7 separate regions of the Homo sapiens genome follow, and all the other regions are linked to region 3. Evidence: promoter capture Hi-C in 16 types of primary human blood cells and fetal thymus (Javierre and others, 2016). All regions are on one chromosome and are shown on one strand. The core of a region is centred on a gene start or on the middle of the fragment in contact, and the rest is flanking DNA. Distances in the headings are between cores, read along the strand shown. Region 1 has its middle 11 kb from the start of LINC02098. Region 2 has its middle 7.3 kb from the start of LINC02725. Region 3 holds the start of KCNJ1 (potassium inwardly rectifying channel subfamily J member 1). Region 4 overlaps LINC02725 (long intergenic non-protein coding RNA 2725). Region 5 overlaps LINC02725 (long intergenic non-protein coding RNA 2725). Region 6 has its middle 70 kb from the start of LINC02725. Region 7 has its middle 53 kb from the start of LINC02725.

Region 1 (3,420 bases), core at 734-3,233, 670 kb after region 3:
TCCGCCTCCTGGGTTCAAGCAATTCTCCTGTCTCAGCCTCCTGAATAGCTGGGACTACAGGCACGCGCCACCATGCCCAGCTAACTTTTTTTTTTTTTTTTTTTTTGTATTTTTAGTAGAGACGGGGTTTCACCATATTGGTCAGGCTGGTCTCGAACTCCTGACCTCAGGTGATCCACTTGCCTTGGCCTCCCAGAGTGCTGAGATTACAGGCGTGAGCCACTGTGCCTGGCCCCCAATGGCTTTTATTGGTAAGGACCTTTGAACTCTTTAAGGAAAGTACATTATAAAACTGAGGCATTCCCATCATTTGTGGCACCAGCAATAGCAGCAAAAGTCAAAATAACTAACAGGGTTCCCGCCACATTTTAACAACCTTTAGAAGGCAGTATTTCTAGACAGTTGTCACGTCACCAGGTTTTTTTTTTTTGTTTTCAACAGAGTATGGTAATGTACTTAGCTGTAAGGCTCTTATTTTCAAACAATTTGCATCATATTCATCTGTGTTAGAAAAATGGAAATAAAAAAATTTGAGTCAGCTAAAACTGATTGTCTCCTTTCATTGGCTTATGGGATTCCACTCCACACAAACAACTACAATGCCAGCTGGTATTTCAGCTGGAAACATCTGCAGGACCATAAATCCTTTCTTGCATAATTTTTTTTCCTGTTAAATTAAGTCCCCCCTTTCTGTTAGTAATTTTACTCATTGAAAAAAAATGTGCTCTGGAGAGTGACAGTCATGAACATAGATGGAACAGAATATTAAATTACAGAATAAAATATTGAAATAAGACAATTATTGGATAATTAGGGCAAAAACTCAATGTATTTATAACTTTCAGGTAATCAGAGCTAAAAAAGCATAATACAATCAAATCAGTTTTTAACATATAGATAGTACCTCTTATTTTTGTTATAGTTTCCAATAAAATCTCCCAGTAGCACAAATTATTGATAGTAAAATCATTGATTAGTGACAGTAGATAAATAACTCGTAATTTTCATCTGACAGCTATTTGATACAACCATGCAGGAATATCATTTTATCATAAGAATATCAAATTATTTGACATATTAATAGTAATATAACATAGTCATATAATAATATAATAGGATTAATTTATCACAATACACTTATGTCTTATAATACATAATGCCAAATGACTTTATGGTAGTAGGGCATCCATTTCACTGATGACTCTCATCCTCCATCTAATTTATGTCTTAGAACAAAAAGAATGCTAATCATCCTTGGGTAGAGTAATTGATTAAGTACTGATTGAGTTTCACTGAAGGCTAACTTATTTTTTAAGGCCCCTAAATATGATGGTGCTATAGGGAGTGCTATTGAAGTGACTTACTGTCCAACAATCAAGAATAAGCATAATTACTGAACCCTCTCCCCCCAATAGCTTTATGATTTTGGAGAAGACAGAAGATGAAGTAGGGAAATATCTCTGGAACAGCATTTATTAAAAGTGAACTTTAGAGATCATTTGCATCTGGATTATCCGTAGGGTATCTCAGAATACCCTACGGATATCTCGCAGAATCTGAGACTGAGATGTAGACTCCATCTTTGGGCATGGCTTGGATCTGTACTTTTCACAAGCTACTTAGGAGACTCTTTGGTACATTAATATTTGAGAATTTCTGACCTAGAAAGTCATGAAATTGGGGAAAACAGGTTTATTAAGCCTGTAATTCATTAATACTGTGAAATGCTTCCTGGAACCACTAGCATTGATTAGTAAACACAAACACCATGGGGCTGCCAATATCTAACTGAAGATCTAATAGGGAAGGTAAGAATGGTACCATTTCTATTAGCACTATTACACCCTCTACCAGTCCCATTTGGTAAATGCTGTCCAGAAAACTCAAATCCTGGGGAAAGTAGGCATTATTACATTTAATCTCACTTCTTAAAATCACTGGGCAAAGTAATTTGGAATTAGTTATACTCTGGAGTGCAGATCTCTTTATTTGGTTCTTATGTTTTTGAAGTCCAATATTCAGATAGATTCCTTTTTCCACCCTCTCCCTATAAAGAATTCAAATCCTAAAGAAATGTGGAACACATTTCTTCCCAGCCTAATGAAAAACAGAATCTTTTACAAATTGTGAATCCACATGTGGGAACTCAGGAGTTTGTATACCGATGTGTGTGAATGTATGATTGTGCAAAGAATTAGACTCCGTTGCGAACACCATCTCAACAGTTCTGCTCACCAAGATCCCTAAGGCCTTACTTAACATTGCATTTTTAATTTACATTACCATTAAAACCTTTTATTGTGTTGTTTAATTCAAGAAGGTCGCTGAATCCATCAAAGTTTCTCATAGATTGACACATGCTCTGGCAATCCATGGAAGTGTCCTTCATGAAGGTTTTCATTACTTTGTGTTTCTGTTATTATCTGCAGACATCTTTCTGTAGTCTGTGATACATTAGGAGTTCAAAAAGAGAAGGTGGCTGCAAGTGTGCTTTACAGTTTGACCAGATGTGTAGCCAGTGTCATGAAATACATCCAATTATACTATAAATAGAGGGCAGAGGCTTACTATTTACCACTTGGTGATTAATAAAATGTGCAGAATGCTGAGACATATCTCACTCCCTATTACTCAATTACTATAACCACTCTTCTTCCAGAAAAAGACAAGTCTTGCAGATGTTAGAGAATGGATTTCATAATGGAAGTCTCTTTAAAATAGCCTGAAAAAAATGGAGCTTAGATTGCAAACCAGAAGAGGCTGGATTTTTCCTCTTTTTTTCCAAAAGTAATAAAACTGCAGACAATAAAGATATTCAAATAAATAAAACAAATCTCTGATTTCACTAAATATTCTCTAAAACTGAAGGTAGAAACCTACACATACATTGTGAAAAATTTGCTCTTGCAATTGGGCTACAGAATGTCCTATAAAATTTACAGCAAAAAATATATTAATCTGTAGTTGTTAAGAAAATTACCTGTCTTATGTGAAAAGTTTTCTATTTTCTTTCTCCCTGTGGTTTCAGGTTTAGACAGTAAGGACGTTTCTCTATTTGAATTTCATGTAGGCTCATATCCAGTAGAAGGTGAATCATGTCTCATATCATGTGGGAGAGCTAGTAAGTTAATTAAAGTGGTTAAGAACTTGGAGAGGGCAAGAAAAAATAATATATATATATATTTTTTATATACAATATATTTATTTTAAATATATACATATATATATATAAATGTAAATATACATATATTTATCTGATAGATACTGGAAATTAAAAATCCAGAGAAATATATGTTGCATTTTTGGGTGGCTGAATGAATGTATACACTTTGTTGATGAAGTGCTTTCCACTGTAAACTTTAAGCCAGGCACTAACCATTTGCCTGCTCCCACACTGAGACCCAGGGCAGGCACGTAAAC
Region 2 (3,610 bases), core at 266-2,765, 780 kb after region 3:
AAATGATTTAATCTTAGGTACTCTGTTTTATTATCACAAAACATAGAAAGAACTTGGTTCCAGGAGTGGGGTGTTGCTATGGCAAATACCTAAAAATATAAAAACGGCTTTGGAAACAGTTAATGGGTAGAAGGTGAAACTGTTTTGAAATTCATGCAGAAAAAAGCTTGTATTACCATGAGCAGAGCATTAAGAACAATTCTGACAAGGGCTCAGAAGAAGAGGAGAGATATAGGGAAAAACTTGCCTTTTTAGACATTATTTAAGTGGTCATGAAAAGAATGTTGGTAGAAATATGGAGAGTAAAGGCTATTCTGATGAGATCTTAGGTGGAAATGAGGAACAAGGTATTGGAAACTGGAGATACAACCATCCTTGTTAAAAAGGGGCAATGAGCTTGGTTGAATTATATGTGACCTAGGACCCTGTGGAAGGAAGAACTGAAGAGTGATTAACTAGTGTATTTGTCAGCAAAATATCTAAACAACAAAGCACTTAAGATGCTGCATGGCTTCTTTCAACTGCTTATAGTAAAAGGGAAGAAGGAATAAATAATTTAAAGATAAAATTTATAATTAAAAGAGAAGCAGATTGTAAAGATTTGGAAAATTAGCCTGGCCATGTAAAGAAAAAAAAATGTGTGCTTAGGAAAGGAAATCAAGGATGTAGACATGAGATCATTTTATAAAAAGATTAGTATAAATAGAAGAAAGCCATGTACTATTCATAACGAAAGTAGTAGAATGAACTTAAAGGCATTTGAAAGATCTTCCAGGCTGCCATGCGCATCACAGGCCCAGAGTTCCCTCACCTTGGGGTCAGAATAGTTTGGGGAGAGGTTCCTAGGGTGCTTGTGATACCTTAGCTCTCTGTTCTCTGTATTCCAGTGTATTACTTCTTGGCCACCCTAGCTGTGGTGCAGGTGGGCCTAGGTGTGACTTGAGATGTGACTTAAGGGCACATGCCTTAAACTTTGGCATCATCTATGTGGAATGCAGAGCACACAAGCTGTGGAAGTATGGCTGCCTCTACTTACACTTCAAAGAATATCTCAGACAGCCTTCCTGAGGCAGAGAACTATATAGCAGAGGTGGGGGCTCCAAATACAGTCCATGCTAGGACAATGTCCAGAAGAACTGTGGGGTCAGAACTATCCCCAAGGCCTGTTAACTATAGAGCCACCAACATGCAACTCCTGCCTGGGAGGACTGTAGACACCTAACTATCTCTGAGAGCTGTGGCATGGGCTGCAGTCAGTGAAGCTGTAGGGGAGGGGAGCATCCCCACCCATGTGTGTCCTCTTGGTGGGACATGGAGTTCAAAAAGACTATTCTCTAGCCTTATCATTTAATGTTGTTATCCCTGTTAGGTTTTAAACTTAGTTGGGACCTGCTACCTCTTCCTTCTTACCTATTTATTCCTTTTGGAACAGGAATGTCTATTCTATGCCTGTATCACCATTGTATTTAGAAGTACATAACTTGCTCATTTCACAGGCCCACAGTTTAAGAGAAATTTGCCTCTGGATGAATTGTTCCTTGAGTCTCACCCATTTCTGACTTACTTAGATGGAAATCTGGATTTTAGACTTTTGAGTTGATGTTGGAACAAGTACAGACTTTTGAGGCTATTTGGATAAAGTGAAGGTGCATTGCACGTGAGAAGGACATTAGTGGGGGAGGGCAGGGAAAGAATGCCATAGTATGAATGTGTCCCTTATAATTCAAAATTCATCTCTTGAAAAAACTCTCCAATGTAACAGTATTAAATAGTATGGCCTTTTGGGAGGTAGTTAAGTCATGAGTGCCACACCTTCATGAATAAATTAAAACTGTTATAAGAGGGCTTCGTGAAGGGAGTTCATTCCTTTTTGTCCCTCTGCTATTTAAAGACTCAGTTTTTCTCACCTCCAGAGGACACAGTAACAAGGTACCATCCTGAAAGCAGAGATAACAGCCCTCACTAGACACTAAGCATACTGGCATCTTGATTATGGACTTCTCAGGCTTCAGAACTATATTAAAAATTATGATTTTATAAATTATCCAGCCTCAGGCATTCCACTGTAGTAGCACAAAAAACCCCTAAGACACCCAACAACCAACAATTGGAAAATGAATTTTTAAACAGCAATTCTATTTACATCAGCATAAAAATTTAATACCAAAAAAAGTCCTTAAAACACATGCAAGAGGTGAAAAATAAAATAGTGCTGAGAGAAATAAAAGAAGACATATATAAGTGGATTGATATATCATGTTCATAGGTCAGAAGACAGTATTATCAAGAGGTACATAATGTAGAATGCACATATTGATTGATTTAACACCATTCTAATAAAAAATACTACTTTTTTTTTTAGATGGAGTGTTACCCAGGCTGGAGTGCCATGGTGTGATCTTGGCTCCCTGCAACCTCTGCCTCCTGAGTTCAAGTGATTCTAGCGCCTCAGCCTCCCAAGTAGCTAGGATTACAGGCACCCGCCACCAGACCCAGCTAATTTTTGTAGTTTTTAGTAGAGCCAATGGGGTTTCACCACGTTGGCCAGGCTGGTCTCAAACTCCTGACCTCAAATGATCTGCCCCCTTAGGCCTACCAAAGTGCTAGAATTACAGCCATGAAGCTCTGCACCCAGCCAATACTAGCATTTTGATAAGAAAACTTATAATTTATTTAGGAATTCAAAGCATATATAAGAACAGAATAATCTTGAAGGTCGAAAGAACAACTTTGAAGAACTTTATCTTATTTTCAATTCAATATAATGCCATAGTAACGAAGACACAGTTACTATTGGTAGTATTGGTGCAATATTACATAAATGGATCACTGGAATTGAATAAAGAGTCCAGAAATAAAGCTTCATATTTATATCTAATTGGTTTTCGACAAAGTTGTCAACTCAATAAAGAAAGAAAATTATTTTTACCATATTTTACGGAAGGACTGTATTTTCATTTGTAAAAATAAAAATTGTAATCCTGAACTCACTCCATATACAAAAGTCAATTTGAAATAGAGTGTAGTTCTAAATGTAAATGCCAGGTCCATAGATGACAGAAATAACATTAATCATAAAAGAAAATACTTGAGGGATGGGCCAATACGGCAGACTAGAAGCAGCTCACGTGAGCTACTTTCATAGAGAGAAAACAAAATGGGTAGTGAACCTTGACCTTGCAGGCTGATCATCTGAGAAATCATGTTGGGATTCATCAAGGCAGCAGGGGGACACAGAGAGCAGACAGGAGTAGAGGTAGACACCAGCCTGTCTGGGTTCAGCATGAAGTCAGGAGAACTCCTACAACATGGGAAAGGGTGAGTGAGTGAGAGCCTCCTGGGGGATTCACACTCTTCACAGGGACCTGTGCAAGACTGAGAATGGGAGAATCCTCTTGGCCCCTTTACACTCACCCAACATGTTTCTAGACTGAGACAGAGAGCTACCTGGATGTTTTGCAAGAGAAACTCTCCAATCCAAAAGAAACTACAAGACATGAGCCCCAGAGCAGACCAATACTGGTGCCATATTCCCAACAGAGGCCACAGTCACAATGGCCCTTTCCTGGACAGGGCTCAGCAAGAGATTCCAGCTCAGTTGTCCCACTTC
Region 3 (3,602 bases), core at 835-3,334:
CTCCTCTCCCTCAGTCTCCTAGTGGGAGATGGCCCTAGGGGGTGGGCTGAGGAGGAAGACAGAAGGCTGACACTCGGAGTAGGTTGGATTTCAACCCTGTTCATTCAATGACAAGTGTATTACATATGCTATCTCTTGAGCTTCCCACTGTAGACTTCTGAGGTGAGAAGCTAGGTAACTTGCAGTTGGTAGAGCAGGGTCTCAACCCCACCACTGAAGTGCAAAGTCTGTGATGTAAAGTTCTGCATTGCCCCGGGACCAGGGTGGCTGGTGAATGGCCAAGAGAAAGTCAGGTCAGCCTGACCTTCTAGGGCAGGAGTCCCCACACCTGGTCTGTGGCCTGCTAGGAACCAGGCTGCACAGAAGGAGGTGAGTGGTAGGTGAGCAAAGCTTCATTTGTATTTTGACCACTCCCTATGGCTCACATTACTGCCTGAGCTCCGCTTCCTGTCAGATCAGCAGCGGCATTACATTCTCACAGGATCCTGAACCCTTTTGTGAACTGCGCATTCGAGGGATCTAGGCTGTGCGCTCCTTATGAGAATCTAACGCCTGATGATCTGTCACTGTCTCCCATCACCCCCAGATGGGACTGTCTAGTTGCAAGAAAACAAGCTCAGGGCTCCCACTGATTCGACATTATGGTGGTGTTGTATAATTATTTCATTATATATTAGAATATAATACATAATATATATTATATGATATATTAGAATATAATACGTAATATATGTTATATAATATTTAGAATATAATATGTAATATATGTTATATAATATTTAGAATATAATACGTAATATATGTTATATAATATATTAGAATATAATACGTAATATATGTTATATAATATATTAGAATATAATACGTAATATATGTTATATAATATATTAGAATATAATACGTAATATATGTTATATAATATATTAGAATATAATACGTAATATATATTATATAACATATTAGAATATAATACGTAATATATGTTATATAATATATTAGAATATAATACATAATATATATTATATTATATATTAGAATATAATACAGAATATATATTATATATTAGAATATAATACATAATATATATTATATATTAGAATATAATACAGAATATATATTATATATTAGAATATAATACAGAATATATGTTATATAATATATTAGAATATAATACAGAATATATGTTATATAATATATTAGAATATAATACAGAATATATGTTATAGAGTATATTAGAATATAATACATAATATATGTTATATAATATATTAGAATATAATACATAATATATATTATATTATATATTAGAATATAATACATAATGAAATAAGGAATATAATAGAATATTATTTCATAGAATAGAATAGAATATTATTTCCTTCTATAATAGAATAGAATATTTCATTATTTCATCCCATATTCATTATTTCATTCTATAATATTATAGAATAGAATAGAATATTATATAATGTAATAGAATATTATTTCATTATATATTAGAATATAATATATAATGAAATAAGGAATATAATAGAATATAATAGAAGTAAAGTAATTATTATAAGTAAACACAGTAGAAACAAAGTTCACAATAAATGTCATGTGTTTGAATCATCTCGAAACCATCCTCCCCCACCACCTCCCTGGTCCATGGAAAAAATGTCTCCCATGAAACTGGTCCCTGGTGCCAAAAAGGTTGGGGACTGCTGTTCTAGGGCCACTGAGTGATTCACAGGACAGGAGACATTTGTGAGGGGCTCCTTGGGGACCCCTACTTCCCTGCCCTGTAACATCCAGCCTCATGTGCGCACGTGTTCAACTTCATGCCTTTGACTTAGACACATCGACATGAGCATACCGGCCTTCTGGTTCCAAGCCAGGGTTCCATAAACAAATCCTTCTTAGTTAGCCTTGGTAGCTCAACACCTTTGGTATCTCACTCACTTAACTGCCACGCCTACTCTTGTTGGATCCGGTTATAAAGTAAACTATGTTCTTTGAGAACTGTTGCATACAGATGAGTTGGCAGCCGGTCTGAGCTGGCCCACAGACTCATAAAATCAACAGGGCCTCGGGTACCCTCACCTAGCATATCCAAACTCTTGCATCAAAGGTGCAGGGACTTGCTCACATCGAGAATCTGGTTGCTTTCTTGGAGACCAAGAAAATGAGTTTTTGTTTCTACATTTACTCCAGCAATCCATGAGGTAAGAGGAGAAACACCTCATTGTCTCTTTGTAGGAAAAAGAAGTTAATTCTTGTGAAAATTTAGACCTCTTTTCCCCGCCTCAAATCTAGGCAGACTTGTCTGTCCACTCCTGGGGGATAGATAGAAGCATGGTTTTAACTCACTCACTGGATGCTTTTGGTGTGCTGGTTACATGTGGATTATTAGCTGTGTGCTGCATCTTGCCTTCCCTGGGTCACTCCGCAGCCCTGGGGCTGGAGGGCAGTAAGAATCTTTGGTTGCATCATGCCTGATTCCAAAGTCTTCTTTTGGTGGCAGAGATGTATGTAGGGTTTTCATCTCTGGTGGCATCCTTTCAATTGTAGCAAGACCTTGCCTAGTAACACAACCTCTGCCAAGCCGTTTCCATCTTTAAGGTAGAGGATCAAGGTGCTAGTGGGGTCTATTATGGAAAACATATATCAGGAAAAGGCAAGAGTTAGCCAGACATTTTGATTACCTTCACCCAAATGTCTTTCTTTCATTTTCTGATGTAGGACTTTATAGGAATTTTGCACCATTCTGAATGGATACATTTGGATTTCTCAACATTTGTTCAGCTTCCTAATGACTGTTGTGACAATTGCTCTATACCAGTGAATGCCAACTGTTTATCTCTGCTCTGAACAGGTATGGAGCCCCTTCTCCCAATATCTGTATCTTACAGATTTGGTGCATAGACGCTTAAAAGGAGTTGGTCTTTCGCAACCAGCAATCTTTAGGAAAAATGATTGAATTTTTCTCCTTTTAGCTGGGCTTACAAAATGGAGCAAAACATAGTGATTGTGCTATGGACCTTTTATGGACAGGGACTTGGCAGAGCCACTCACTGGATGCTTTTGATCTGCTGGTTGTACCTGGATTATTAGTTGCGAGCTGCACGCTGCCTTCCCTGGGCCATTCCGTAGCCCTGGGGCTGGAGGGCAGTTAGAATCTTTGGTTGAATCTTCGGTTACATTGGAGGAGCTGCCCAGTCTTTGTGGGCTCCCTTCAGTCATGGGCTTGGCTTGTGTTGTCTTACTCTACACTGTTTAGTGTAAATGGATTCTCACTAAGTCAGCTTCAGCTTTTAAGAGCATGATGGGGTGGAGATATCTGGGAACGTATGGGCCATCAGAAAAGCATTTTTTTATACTCAAGTCATGAAGGTGGATTTCTTCTGTGTAAGGAGGTGCACCAAGTCAGTGTAGGTGCAAGACTGCCCTTGTAAAGAAGCAGAGTATGTGAATTCCTTGTGAGTGGGTCTTAATCTTTAATGCTTTAATGACTTTTGGTTTGCCTGATTTTTTTTAATATAAGAAGTTTGTAATTGCCAAGCATGCTTTTCTGTGAAGAGCTAAGTCTCAAAATTCCCCATTCACGTTCTTTTCCTTTC
Region 4 (3,618 bases), core at 43-2,542, 690 kb after region 3:
GCTGCATGGCATGTTTTGAAGTCCCAAACTCATTACCAGACTGACCCCTGAGAAGAGCTGTGGAAAGCACCAGTGTCTGAAGAGGTTTTTCTCTGTTAGTGCTGAAGGATATAATTGGATGGTTGAATGAGTGGGTGAATAGAGACTTTGCCTGCATCTCCAAACTTGTTTCTTATTTCTTAGTTGTGGCCATTTCTTTCTGGGAGAGGAAGGCATGGGGAAATGGTGAAAAGGGAATAATTGTCACACGTATCTACTAAAACAATTGACTCCACCCTCTTGTTTTAAATTCCATCTCTCTGAGAAGGATCCATGTGTTCACATACTCTGTTGCTCAAACAAGAAAACAGGTCATTCTTCTTACCATTTTCTTCTCCCTCTTCACTTTCAATCTACTATCAAATCCTCCTGACTTTTACCTCCTAGATATCTCTCTAAATTATCAATTTAGATTCCTAAATTAATCAATTCCTAAATCCTCTGGCTGGCCAGATTATAACATGGTAAGAATGAAGGAACTAAACAGATCTGGGGTTGTGAGTGGTGAGTTGTGGCCATTTCTTCCTGGGAGAGGAAGGCATGTGGAAATGGTGAAAAGGGAGCAATTGTTACATGTATCTACTAATTAAGACATCACATCGATCAGGTAACCCGTATTTATCCTCCACCTAGATCAGTCATTCCCAAGCCTGGCTGATCATCAGAATGACCTATGGAACTTTTACAAAGGACACACTTCCAAGTTACACCCCAAAACATCCTAATTCAGCAAGTGTATGCTGGATCTGGGCGTTCAAGTTCTACCTGGTCTACAGTTGAGTCTGATGATCATTCAGTCAGTGAACTGCTGCTTTAATTACTCTTGGTTTTAATTTCTACCCAAAACTCCCTGAAAATTCCAACGAAGAGCTCAGTAACCCTGTTCTTTCTTTTCCTCATTATTTTGCAAAATATAGAACACAAGGGGAACATACTTTTGATTTATTAATGATGCCAAGAAATATCAAACAGTTTATTGTTTCTATTATTAGAGGAAACCAGACCTGAAAAATAAGTGTAGCATAATCATTTACATACACAAGGCCCTTGAATGGTAAAGCTTCTCATGAATATCCTGGGATGAATGCTGGGAGGCTATTACCATCATCAATTCCATTTTTCAGATGAAGAAACCTAATTACCTCTTAAAGACCCCATCTCTTGAAACCATCACATAGGCAACACCTGAATTTTGGAGGGGACACACTGAAACCATAGCAGGGGGCAATATAAAGGAAGAGCCCAGCTTGAGAGGAGCACTTGGAAACCGTTTCTTGGGCCTTAAAGGAAATCTATCCAGGCTGGCGTTTGTTGAGTGCTGCTACTGCTGTTGTGACTGTTTATTTGTTGCTATTGTTGTTGCCTATTTTGTGCCAGTCATCCTACATATTTTACACCTCAGTGCTGAGGACAGCAAGCAGCTCCCCATGTTACCAGGTAAGCTTTCCAGATAAAACACAAGATGCCAGTTAAATTTGAACTTAAGATAAACTATGAGTAATGTTTAAGTATAAGGGTATCTCATGCAATACACAAGACATTTATATTAAAACATTACTTGTTGTTTATCTGAAATTCAAATTTAACTGGGTGCTTTGTATTTTTATTTGCTAAATCCAGCGGCTTTGTCCCTAAGACAAAGTTGGGAATTCTTAAAGAAAGAAAATCAATTTTATTTTTGGAAGCCTCCGATTCCAGCCTATTGTCTTCCTCTGTACACTTTTCCCTGTGCTTGCCACTAAGCTATGTCCAGAGTACAGCTTTAGGATCTCTGGAGCCTCTTCATCCACATAGAGCAGGACAAGTCAATAAAGAGGCAGCATTGGGGGAGCATGAACTTGACCCATTCAAAGTTAATGGTAACACCTTGGTGAGGAAAACAAATGTTAGGGAATGAAACAAAGGTACTTCCTGTAAGGACCACCATTATCACTAACTGAGGGAATTTGAGAGTGCTTCACTTCAAACGGATCTGAGGTATGGAAACCTGAGTTTATACAAATCCAGGGGTGCTTTCGTTTTACTAATTACAAAGGGATCCCTGGCCTTATAAAAAGATTTAAAAGATGTTTGGAACATAGTTTGACTTTTTCTATTCAAAAATCGTTCAATACAGCTGTTATATACAATAATGTACTCATTTATACTTTAATAAAATATAGATTTGCTGTTGTATGGGTTAGGGTCACCAGATTTAGCAAATAAAAACACAGAATGCCCAGTCACATTTGAATTGCACACAAACAACAAGTATTTTTCAGTGTGAGCATGTCCTGTGCTTATACTAAAAAATGAGTTGTTGATCTGCAATTCAAATGTATCTGTGCATCCAGTAATTTACATGGCAATGCTGTATGGATACAGTTTCATATTCCTGATTTTGAAGGCAAAGGAAGATGGAAAAAGGGTTTGGGAAAGGAATAGATAAGAATTAGGTCAGTATGTAATGCACTGAATTTTATCATAGGACCTGCTGGGCTCAGTAGATGTAGCAATTAGGTGCTTTTGACAGTGAGATTTGAAGTCTGTCTTGGAGGTTGGTAGACTTATATTACTATGAAGCCATGAGCCACTCTAGGTTTTGTGACCTAGCCACCCCCGTGACAAAACAGATATTTGCAAAAACAGCTGGGGGACACCTTCCGCACAAGGTCGGATGCACATTCCTCTTCCTGCTGAGCCTGGTCACCAGAGATCACCCCTCACAGGATTTCCATAAGAGGGCCAGGCAGTTCAGAAAGGAATCTCTTCCAAAGCGCCATCTGTTGCAATGTCAGCGGCTTCATGCATCATTCACAGGAGCTAAAACATTCAAATTAAAGTGGGCAAAAGAATTTGTGAGCCGCAGCTTCTGAATTTCCTGGATTTTTTCAATTATCTCTTTCATTTCTACATCAAGGTTTTGCCATTCTTTGAAAATGTGATCATCAGAGTTTTCAAATAACTAAAATTGCTCAAAAATGCAACGACCTGCCTCAGAAAGGAGTGAGTTTCTTGTGTTTAGGAGACTGAGTGAATATTTAGTGGGCATGTTAGGCAGCTGATACAATCTCTTTTGGTGTGTAGACTCGACGACATGATTTTTCAGGTCTTGAAAACTGTTTGGCACAGCACAGACTCTAGGATCATATATAGTTGAATTAAAATCCATGGCTTTGTCTTTTATTAATTAGTTTTGAACAAATCACTAAATTTTTCTAACCTGCTTTTTTTTTTTTGGACAGAGTCTCGCTCTGTCCCCCAGGCTAGAGTGCAGTGGCAGTGGTGCGATCTCAGCTCACTGCTACCTCTGCCTCCTGGGTTCAAGCAATTCTCCTGCCTCAGCCTCCCAAGTAGCTGGGACTATAGGTGCCCGCCACCACGCCCGGCTAACTTTTTGTATTTTTAGTAGAGACAGGGTTTTACCATGTTAGCCAGGATGGTCTCGATCTCCTGACCTCATGATCCGCCCGCCTCGGCCTCCCAAAGTGCTGGGATTACAGGTGTGAGCCACTGTGCCCGGCCTATTTCTTTATTTTTAAATTAGGGACAAACCCAATGGATTGTTAATATGCAAAGATAATACATCTTTTAAAGATT
Region 5 (3,823 bases), core at 220-2,719, 730 kb after region 3:
CAAGCCATTCTCCTGCCTCAGCCTCCCAAGTAGCTGGGACTACAGGCATCCACCACCACGCCCGGCTATTTTGTATTTTTAGTAGAGACGGGGTTTCACTGTGTTAGCCAGGATGGTCTCAATCTCCTGACCTTGTGATCCACCCACCTCGGCCTCCCAAAGTGCTGGGATTACAGGCGTGAGCCACCACGCCCGGCCATGAATTTCTTTACTATAGAATTTCTCCCATCATTTATGTTAATATTCAGTGCTAATCTCTGCGATAGGAAGTAGAGTGCTTTCTGTGTACCTGCTGAGGACTGTTTGTCAAATAATGACCACAAAAGGTGACCACAGAAAGAGCTAGTATTTCCAAGCATACACTTCAGTAAATTTAGCCCTATGTCTATTTGGAATGATTATTTGCTTATGTTTCTAGAGACATAGCAGAGATTTCCGACATCCTACAAATGCAATTCACAAGACATAGCTGTCGCAGAGCCACCAAGATGTCCTTGTTGGGCATGGAACAGGGCACTTCCTGGGCTCTCTGTCAGGCCTCAACTTATCAAGATAATTGTTGGGGTGAGAAAATCAGTTGAGCGACTACTGCCCTGGAGAGAGTTAGGGAAAGAAGGTGGTGAACCAAGAACAAGTCAAATAGAGCCATATAACTGAGGCCAAGTAGGCAGTGACTGAGTCAGCACTGATTTGCCCATTGCAGGGAGTACACAGGGGAAATCAGCTAATCAGAGCTTCCGGGCAACTCATTACCCTTTACAGTGGAAAGCATTTATAATGGAGGCTTCTTCCCTGACTTTAAATAAAGCGTGTCTTGGGAAAATTACTTTCTAAACTGGGCTGTAATGATCCAACTCCCTATTCAATAGATGACTGTGTCGTTTTAACTTCCACAGGTATTAGAATAGCACAATAATATTCGTGTGGGGAAGGCAAATTGTGCAGTCTATAGAGAGGTTAAATGAATGAAGTCAAAATTGTAGAAGTAATAAGGCAATGTGATTCAATAGGAAAATAACTATTATTTTATGAAAATGTATTGTCTGTAGAGATCTTCAAAGGGCTGGAAATGGTCCTGTTATTCCTATTCAGAAGAGAAACTTTAGATCAATAGTACTCTTTATGGCAAAGAAATTGGCCAGTAGAGGAAAGGGTATAGACATTAAAATAGGTTAGACTTGGGTTTTAAATTCCAATCCATTGATTGTCTTTTCCTTAGCATGGAGGCTAGGACCTGCGTCAAGTCATAAAAAGCCATAAATAGTTACAAGGCCTCAAATAACTTTCATCATGCTCTACCTTGATGCATACCTTGGTTCTTCAGCAATATGACTTGGAAACTTTGTTGTTCTCTCAAAGCCTCAATTCCTCCTCTGAAAAATTGGATTAGTCCTACTTAACTCATAGAGTTCAAAGGAGGTAAATTTTAAGTGTACATAAAGTGTCCAGCAAAATTCTCAAGCATACAATAAGTGACAAAAAAGCATTCACTGAGCGAGTTAGTGGCAGGCTAGGCACATTTTACCCTCTTTGGTAAATTACCAACCATCAATGCTGACATTTTCTTTAAAAGGCAATAAAAGGCCTCCATTATCAATCACTCATGTTCCAGGGAAAAGTTATTTAATCTGAGATGGCTGTATAACTTCAGGTAAGCTATTTAACAACTCTGTTCTTGGCCGGGTGCGGTGGTTCACGCCTGTAATCCCAGGACTTTAGGAGGCCAAGGTGGGCAGATCACGAGGTCAGGAGATTGAGACCATCCTGGCTAACACGGTGAAACCCCGTCTCTACTAAAAATACAAATATTAGCCGGGCGTGGTGGCGGGCCCCTGTAGTCCTAGCTACTCGGGAGGCTGAGGCAGGAGAATAGCGTGAACCCGGGAGGCAGAGCTTGCAGTGAGCCGAGATCGCGCCACTGCACTCCAGCCTGGGTGACAGAGCGAGACACCGTCTCAAAAAGAAAGAAAGAAACAAACAAACAAAAAAAATCTCTGTTCTTCTGTCATGTTTCTTTTGAAATAATTCCATCCCATCTTAGTACAAAATCGATTTGGAGTTAGGAGACCTGGAGAGGATACTCAGCTTCCTGAGACTTTAGGCCAAGTTCCTTAACATTTCTGAGTCTGTTTGCTTGTGCATAAAATGCCTATGATACTTGTCCAATTTATTTCATAGTTATGTAGTCAGGAGCAATTGAGATGAAGTATTTGGAAATCCTAAATTAACTTTGTAAAGCAGGCTATATCTCTAGGTTGATTTCAATGTTGTTTCTCCAGCATTGGAAGAAGAGAGTTCACAGGTCTCTACTGTTGGGGGTCCATTAGGGTGCAAAGACTTTGCTTGGGAATTAGGAGATCATGGTTTTCATTCTAACTGTATCTTCCTGTGCTATCTTAGACATTTAATTTTATCTCTTTGTTCTCCATTTAATAAAAAAATTGTTCCCCATATGACAAAAGAAATTCAGGGAGTAGAAGAAAAGAAGATTTGATCTCGACTCTCCATTCTAAAAGTCTAAGAATATTACAATCCTTCTTTTCTGTTGGCATTCTAAAAAATGGAGTCAACATTTGTAGGTCTAACTGGATTCAGTTGTTTATAGAGCGATACCTGCCAGAGGCATATAGTGTAGTTGGATAATCCTGCTGTATTTCTGTAAAATTACCTTTTTCTTTCAGAGGAAACAAAAGCACAGCTTGGTCTCTTTTTTTTGAAAGAACCTTTTGTCTCGCATTCTTGTTGGTCAGATACCAGGTGCCAAGAAGCAAGTGATCCCAAAGGAATTTCACTTTGGCACCACCGAGGACAAAGGGGTCATTTAAAAATTTCACAACCATGGACAGGCTCAGCACCTAGTTTGAAGCATGGAGCCTGATTAATTGGACTGTCATTTCCAACAATTCTGAGCTTTGGCCTTTTCATTTGCCAGAAGGAAAAAGAAAGCAACATTCCTACACTTAATTTTCACAACCTTGAGCCAACAGTATGTGACAAAATCAACCTATTTCTCAACCATGGATTTCTTCTCCCTGTGATGCTTAACCTCACTGGTTCTTTTCAGTTGTCAAATTGAGGTAACATATAAAACTGAAATGTGAATGCAAGAAACCACTCCCATCCACACACTCTCAACATAAAACACACACACTTTTTTATAGCTAGATGCACAGACACGCAAGTACATACTCACACACCACAAAGATACGTCCTTGAGAAAAAAGTTTTTTCAAGAATATGAATATTGTTTGTTACTCTCTGTGGAGTTTTTAGGGGACAGATTTTTTGCATTATGTGTTGTACTTGTCTTATTTCATAACCAACTACTAATAATGATATTATTTAAGATGGTGGTAATAACAGTTGCCATCAATCAAATGCTTATTATATTTGAGGCTTTGTGTTAAGCGCTTTAGTCATAACATTCTTCTCTGAAAGGATATTAGATCAATCTTGTTATTATTATCAGATATCATTGTTATTATGGACTTCTAGATGAAGAAACAGAAGCTTTGGAAGATTTAGTCACTTGCCCAAGGACACAGTGGGCTTCAACTGCAGCTCAAACCAAATTATTTCTGATCCAAAACCCCACACTGTAGACCTCTCTTCTCTACTCCTTTGTACGCATATGCCCAAATTTAAAATCCCAGACAACCAAAGTCTTTTTAAAGACTTTGAAGCCCTAATCGAACTGTAACTATTAAGCACCTCTGTGAGTCTTGAATAGAACCCCTTTTTAGTTATGAAGCAAGAACTAGGCAGAATTCATTTCTAGTCTCATAGCAGAGAATTAACAGTGTATTATAGGTTGAACAATATA
Region 6 (3,598 bases), core at 780-3,279, 840 kb after region 3:
AAAAAATAAAATATTGCCCAAGATTCTATACTAAGTTCTAATGCAGTAGGATGACCTGGTCTAGCTGATGCCAAGACAATAATGCTCTTTAGCTGTGGTTTTGCTTTCTGCTGTTCCAGTGACCCAAGGTCAATCAAGAGCCAAAAATATTAAATGGAAAATTCCAGAAATAAATAACTTATATGTTTTAAACTGCACACTGTTCTGAGTAGCATGAAGAAATCTTGTGCTGTCCCTCTCCCTCCCGGGATGTGAATCATGCCTTTGTCCAGCGTGTCCACGCTGTCTACAATGCTCTCCCGTGAGTCACTTAGTGGCTGTCTTCATTATCAGATGCACTATTGCAACATTACAGTGTTTGTATTTGAGTCAACCTTATTTCACTTCATAATGGCCCCAAAATGCAAGAGTAGTCACGTTGGCAGTTCACATATGCCAAAGAGCGTCATAAAAGGCTTCCTTCAAGTAGAAAGGTTAACTTAATAAGGAAAGAAAAAAAGTTGTTTGCTGAGGTGACTGAGATTTCTGGTAGGAACGAATTTTCTATCCATTGCATTGTGAAGAAGGGGGACAAATGATGCTGGTTTTGCTGCCACCTCTCACACTGCAAAAGTTTTGGCTACGGTGCATGATAAGTCCTTAGTTAAGGTAGAAAAGGCACTAAATTTCTGCATGGAAGACACGAACAAAAATATGTTCCAATTGACAGCAATCAGGTTTCATACTGGGGGTCTTGAAACATATTCCCCACTGGGCATCCACTGGGGGTCTTGAAACATATTCCCCACAGATATGGGGGAGTGCTGTACCTACAATATTATCCTGTACCCCATTTTACCTTCCTGTGCAAGACTGTTAAAGGGGTTAAATGAGATGATGCATGCGGAAAGCCTATCACAGATCCTGAAGCAATAGGTTGCAATGAATGTTAGTTAAAATCACAAGTAGGTTCCCAGGAAGCAGACCCTGAGGCAGAGATAAGAGAGCAGAATGTGTATCAGAGAGTATTGTTGGATCAACACATGGGGGAAAGAGGGAGAGGAAGCAAGATTGGACAGAAAGTTGAGTTGATTTGCAAGGAAGCCTCACAGCCAATGCCATAGGAAGCTTGAGAGCTAGGCTGGTTCACTGGAGTTGTCATGAATTGGAACAAGGGAGCCACATCTTTATAACCCTGCATTGATCAAGCTTTAGATGAAGCCTGCCCTGAGAAGGAGATGTGTGACTTTGGGTGAAACAATTTTCTTCAGCCAAGGCAGTCGTCAAAGAGGTCTGAAAGCTGAGGCAGTCAGCTGCTAGCAGCTATGGGGAAACGCCCTTCACTCCTGAAACTGTCACACTGAGGTATCCATCTGTTGTATTAATACTTGCAATATTTATTGCTTTTATTATTATTATTATTGGCTTCATTACAATATTTTGTTAAAATTTTTTCAAGTTTAGACATGTTTGAAAATTGATGATTTAAATAATTTAGACCTACTAGAGAAGCGGAAATTGAGTCCTAGAGTGAGCTGGGTGGGAACCCCAGTGTGCATCATGTATGGGCTAGGACCCTGGTCCAGCCCTCTAGTATCCTGTCTGCCTTCAGTCTTTAGTCTCCAGTTCTTTCCTCCCTTAACTACTGGGTGAATGAAGCCCTTGTCATAGTCTGAGCCATCTATAAGTAAGAGAAACAACCCCCAGACCTACATGCATTTGTTTCATTGGAGAACCAGTGTGTTTCAAAATTAAACCTTCACCTAGTTAGGTATTTAGGGACTAGGGATGCCATTAGAAGAAATAGGATCCACTCTATGACTCTGGGATGGGACAGGATTCATGAGATTTATGGCCATGAAGGCCTTTGAGGATAACTTCTATGGTTATAAATTAGGTATAGGAGTATAATATGCATTCCTCCGGAAAAAGCTAAGAGCAGAGAAATAGAAAAGGAGAGTGATAATCTTACCTAAATTCTAATCCTAGGATAGCTGCTGCAGTTGAGCACAAAATCTGGCTGTGAGTTTCCTGGCAGTCAAATGGCTTCACAACCCTCTTAAAACTTCTTCTTTATGGGGAGACCAGGGACTCAGAGAGAGCTAAGTGTTGAGCTCAGGAGAGTCTCACCTGAGATAGGTTCATCTGTGGACTCCTCTTACAGATGATAGACAGGGAAGCCTTAGATGTCATACGACACTTGGGGATGTGGTGTGGTATTTAAGTGTGGGTGTACGTATGTGTAAATGTGTGTCCACTTATTTGAATCATCGTATTTACACCTGTGCAAATTTGTGGTGGTTTAAAATATCTCCACTGATCATACAGTGCCTATCTGTAGATGCCCCAGGAATATTCAACCAGCATTAACCCTGTAGGAGAAAATACTTTACTAATGCCAACTTCTAGGAAGATGACAAGTATAATTTCCAGTTGTCATTCTTGCCCTAGGGGGCTTGAACAGAATATATTAATGAGGGCCAGGCTGCCTCGGGCTCTTCATGAGGCTACTTCTTAATCATTTAGCCATCTGATCACACCACCTCCCAGCCTTGACCCACAGCAGAAATTTAGAGCTCTTAGGAAAAAGGCAGGCAGTATAAGATGGTGAAGATTGTATGGCATGCATCTTCCTTTCAAACATGACATTAGAATGAGATATCCTGACTGCCCTTTAGTTTCACAGTGGCCCATTGGGAGCCCTAAGGATCTGATTGTAAGGTAAACACCAGAAAGTGATACGTACATAAGCAATGTGTTCTCTAGACTTCTCTGTACCCAAAATTATTAGTTGACACCATTAGCATTAGTAGTGTCTTTCCTTCTTCCCTTTGATAAAACAAGAACACAATTGTAACCCTAATGGGCCATCTTTGAAGAACAGAAGCTTATGTTTCTGATCAATATACCAGCAAGCCCACTTGACAAAAGGGTTAGGATGGTATTAGAAACTAATCTTTAAAAAAATGTCCATGCTTATGTTAAACAGTGCTAGCATCTTTCTCTAGTATCCTTTTTGCATTAAAAAATAATGCTTAGTGAGCTTTTACAAGGTGCTCAGTGCTGGGCCAAGCACCCCCATGTCTGATCTCATTTAATCCTCTCAACAGCCATATGAAGCAAGTACTATTATTAGATCTGGTTTATAAGTGAAGAAACTGGGGTTTAGAGAATAATTTGTTCAAGGTGACTTAACCAGTAGTGGAGAGATACCGACTTAGTGCAGTTTGATGGCAGAACCAAGCTTCTCAACCATCCTGCTGTACTCACTCTTATGAAGATATCAGAGGATAGCAGAGAGAAGACTGTTTCTATTTCTTTGTCTCTGGGGTGCTCTGTGACCCACTGCTAGTCTTCACACCTACAGATAATTCTTATTAGAATTTGAAATAAAAATTGTAGCAGCCTTTTAATGTTTACCTGTCTATCCCAAGCAGCCTTCTAAGGAAATCAAACTTGTCACTTCTTGACTTCATTTCACACTATGCATTCATGCCTAGGACATCAGAGATCTTAGTGTCTCTGAGGAAGGACAAACCTTGAGCAATCAAGGTCCTTTACAACAGGTCCTCAGTAACTTTGTCTCATTCTATCTCAGCTTTCATTCAGCATGTGCCAT
Region 7 (3,343 bases), core at 613-3,112, 830 kb after region 3:
TTGGCTAAATCGGTAGGTTAAATAGGGATATGAACCCAGCTGGTTTCATTCTTAACCACTCCAGATTATTACCTCTCAAAGTCTTGGGAATTAGTTCAGCAACAGTATTTTAAGCAATAAGATTGGCAGTTAGAAGGCAAGGGAGCTTCAGTTTTAAAATTCTGACTGAAAAGACTCTTAGCATCAAATTTTATACCCAGATACACTATCAGATGTGATGATAAAATATTTCTGATATATTGGAGCTGAAAAACTAACTTATTACCACCTTATTTCAGGATGATATTATAATATGTTTTTGAACAAAAAATTAAAGAAAAAAGAGATCAAGAGGAAAATTTTACATCTAGCAAAAAGAATAACTAATGTAAGTGAGCATCAAAAGAAATATTCAGGTTTATACCTGGAAAGAAGACCTTCACAGAAAATAGTACAAATTAGAACAGAGGGCAAATCTGAGTATATGAAAAATAATGCTTTTGGGCCTATGGCAGAGATTAGAATTCTTGAAAAAATATCAGTTACTTTATGGAAAACTAGGTAAATGAAAAATTGAGGAAATAACTCCAAAAAGAAGAGCAACAACAGCATCAGAGGGCTTATAGGAAAGATGGAAGTAGAATAGTGAACAATATTTGGATACTCATAAGAATGTGAACTATCGATTTTACTAAAAGCTGTGATATAACTATGTTAGGAAGCTGGGAGTAGGTGAATCTGGGATGGTAGTGGGTGTAGAAAAGCTAATCCTCATCTCCAATTGTAGGTTATAAGTATATAATGTGTAAAACTTAGATAGATTGATATACACACACATAGAGACACATGAAATATATACATATATATATATGTCTGTGTGTGTGTATGTGTGTGTGTGTATCCATTCTCTTAGATGGGTGAGATCCAATTTGATCTTCCTATTTGTGGTTTCATTGACATTCCTTCCTTTTGCTAGGCATATATATATATACACACACACATACACACACATATACATATACGTAAATATAACAGATATATATATATAAGTCTAGCAAAATAAACATACTATTTAGACATATGAAAGCTAAGATCATGTGAAATAACCAGAAAAATTAAGAAGAGTTACCTGTGGAATAAAATGCCTGAGGAATGGGATGGGGTGGAACAGGATACTCTTTCACTTTAAGACTTTTAGAATTATTTGACTTTAGAAATCATTTACAGTTGTTACTGATATAACATTAAAACTATTTAGAAATTAAAAATTAAAAAACATTTTTACTATGTCTTTCCCTATTTATCAAGGGGGAGTTTGGAGCAGGAACAGAACTTGGGGGAAAAGAGAGAGCTGTTGTTTCCTTTGAGCATAAAAGTAGCCCTTGAATATCTTTGCATGAGGTATTAGGGCAGGAGTGGACAGAAGCAGGCAGGAATGTGACCTATGGATTTGAAACATTAGTTCTCAGTCCTCAGATCATGAGCCATGAAGAGAAGGTCACCAAAGGTTGTAACTATTTTTTTTTCTTTGTTGCCTGCTTCCATCAGTGCAAGCCCAGGTCCTGGCTCATTCTGCTCTACCCCCGCTGTGGAAATGGGGAGGACTGCCTGCCTTTCTGTCCATCCCACCCTGGCTCCCCTCACCAAAAGTGGTGGGGGTGTGGGGTTGCTGGTCGGGCTGGACTGTGAGCACTGACAGGGCCCATTAATCATGCATGTGGCAGGCATGCTATCTCTTTCATCTCCCCTGGGCTTGATTATTTAGGGCAGCCGTGGTGTCCTCTCACTCTCTCTCTAACCATATGCAAATATTTACTCCACTGATTTGTGTGCCACATCCTTTGGTTTCTTTCCTGATCATGAAGCTGATCATAGGAGTGAGATCTAAAGTTTAGGTGTGGGCTTTGGAGTGGGTGGATGCCAGCCTTAGCCCAATTTGGACATTAGCTCAAGCCAAGATATGCCAAGCCAGCTATTTCAGAGAGCCCTGTTTTTAGGCTTGGGTCTTCACCTAGCTTGCAATAAAATGCTACTTTATTTGTTAATTGTCTACTGATCCTTTCACAGGGATCATTTGGGAATCCTATTGGGGGCTGGGAAGGTAGATGGTTTGGAGGGCAAGATTCTGGTATTCCTGGGTCCCGGCTTCTCATCACCATTTAAAAAAAGAGACCCACTTTCACATTTACCTTCACTTCTAATAGACATCATGAAGAATAAATAATCATACTTACTTCATGGAAAGACTTTTTTATGTACAAATGTAAAGACCCAAGAACACATTGTTTATAGTCTTGTTTTCTCACAAATCCTTATACAACAGACCTTGATTATTCATGAGAGACCTAGGGATATTCATAAAGTCCTCTCCAGTCTAGAAGTCTAGATTGCCTATTGGAATTTCCATTCTTTCATGTGCTTTTATAATAATAATTATTATCATTTTATTTCTATTGAAGAATCAGAAACAAAACATTCCACATTGTGTACGTATATCCAAATATCACATTGTACTCTATAAATGTATATATTTATGTTTTGTCAATCAAAAATAATATTAACAATACATTAAAAAATAATTTTAAAAGAAACAAAAGGTCGTGCAAACAAAAGCCAAAATAATAATATGTCTTACAGTAAGTAAAGAATTAATAAATGTTGGGAAAAAACCAACATTCTGGTTATGGGCATTGATCTAATAAGTGTAGTTCCCCCCACCGAGCAATTTCATTATAAAAATGAAGATCATATTCTCTCTACTCAAATTAGAGGATTTCTAATTTTATGCAACTGATTCATCACTTAAATTCAGTAGATGAAACTCTAGCCACAAGACTTATTTCATGTAGGCTCTCACTAAATCACTGTACAATCAATGTATGGATTTGTGTAGGGGTTGGATAGAAGTATTTATCTTTATTTCCCTAATTGTCAGAAAATCAAATTTTGTCATTTAAACATTAATTTCCTCAGTCATTGCATCATGAGAAACTAGGAATCTGAAATTTGTCTCTCACTAACCTAACAGTTTTATTTGAAAAGTAGGTCCAACCCAAAGTCATCCCTCTTGAGAACAGACAACATGAGGTGGGCTTGCTGGGAACGTGTCTAACTACGGACCCTGAATTTCTTGGCCATGGAGTATATATAAGTTGAGTGATTTTTCTCTTGGAAGCTCCTGTTACTTATCCAGCTTCATGTTTTAAGCCTAAGCATTTTGCTGCAAGGAAGTCATTCAAATGTGTTGAAATATTAGTCTCCCACTGAAGAATTTTAAAACAACATGTTATTTCAACACTCTCTGCTTCAATAATCAGTTGTTTCCAGGCTCCCTGAGCCTCAAATCATATCACAGCTAAATCTT

What was found. The method cuts DNA at HindIII sites, captures the fragments that hold promoters and counts their contacts. A CHiCAGO score of 5 or more calls a contact.
Region 1: a fragment that was not itself captured here is called in contact with the fragment with the promoter of KCNJ1 in region 3 in 2 of 17 cell types (neutrophils and monocytes); the score reaches 6.3 in neutrophils.
Region 2: a contact is called between a fragment that was not itself captured here and the fragment with the promoter of KCNJ1 in region 3, in 1 of 17 cell types (monocytes). The highest score is 5.5, in monocytes.
Region 4: a contact is called between a fragment that was not itself captured here and the fragment with the promoter of KCNJ1 in region 3, in 7 of 17 cell types (neutrophils, non-activated CD4 T cells, total B cells and 4 more). The highest score is 11.2, in neutrophils.
Region 5: a fragment that was not itself captured here is called in contact with the fragment with the promoter of KCNJ1 in region 3 in 2 of 17 cell types (activated CD4 T cells and non-activated CD4 T cells); the score reaches 5.8 in activated CD4 T cells.
Region 6: a contact is called between a fragment that was not itself captured here and the fragment with the promoter of KCNJ1 in region 3, in 4 of 17 cell types (activated CD4 T cells, naive CD8 T cells, M2 macrophages and 1 more). The highest score is 6.3, in activated CD4 T cells.
Region 7: a contact is called between a fragment that was not itself captured here and the fragment with the promoter of KCNJ1 in region 3, in 1 of 17 cell types (non-activated CD4 T cells). The highest score is 7.0, in non-activated CD4 T cells.

What each region holds. Positions count from the first base shown.
Region 1 is chr11:128,195,606-128,199,025 of GRCh38, reverse strand. No RefSeq gene overlaps it. Among named protein-coding and RNA genes, the nearest start is that of LINC02098, 11 kb to the left of the region's middle. The HindIII fragment of the contact is 5,347 bases long and covers 1-3,420 here.
Region 2 is chr11:128,086,618-128,090,227 of GRCh38, reverse strand. No RefSeq gene overlaps it. Among named protein-coding and RNA genes, the nearest start is that of LINC02725, 7.3 kb to the left of the region's middle. The HindIII fragment of the contact is 2,694 bases long and covers 169-2,862 here.
Region 3 is chr11:128,865,778-128,869,379 of GRCh38, reverse strand. KCNJ1 (potassium inwardly rectifying channel subfamily J member 1) reads left to right here and starts at 2,084. Exons shown (of 3, transcript NM_153766.3): 1 at 2,084-2,207. LOC107984409 (a long non-coding RNA gene) reads right to left here. Exons shown (of 3, transcript XR_001748442.2): 3 at 2,201-2,630. The HindIII fragment of the contact is 3,543 bases long and covers 393-3,602 here.
Region 4 is chr11:128,173,858-128,177,475 of GRCh38, reverse strand. All of the region lies in intron 4 of LINC02725 (long intergenic non-protein coding RNA 2725), which reads right to left. Among named protein-coding and RNA genes, the nearest start is that of LINC02098, 33 kb to the left of the region's middle. The HindIII fragment of the contact is 382 bases long and covers 1,102-1,483 here.
Region 5 is chr11:128,134,668-128,138,490 of GRCh38, reverse strand. All of the region lies in intron 2 of LINC02725 (long intergenic non-protein coding RNA 2725), which reads right to left. Among named protein-coding and RNA genes, the nearest start is that of LINC02725, 41 kb to the right of the region's middle. The HindIII fragment of the contact is 4,086 bases long and covers 1-3,512 here.
Region 6 is chr11:128,023,523-128,027,120 of GRCh38, reverse strand. No RefSeq gene overlaps it. Among named protein-coding and RNA genes, the nearest start is that of LINC02725, 70 kb to the left of the region's middle. The HindIII fragment of the contact is 1,678 bases long and covers 1,191-2,868 here.
Region 7 is chr11:128,040,792-128,044,134 of GRCh38, reverse strand. No RefSeq gene overlaps it. Among named protein-coding and RNA genes, the nearest start is that of LINC02725, 53 kb to the left of the region's middle. The HindIII fragment of the contact is 5,296 bases long and covers 1-3,343 here.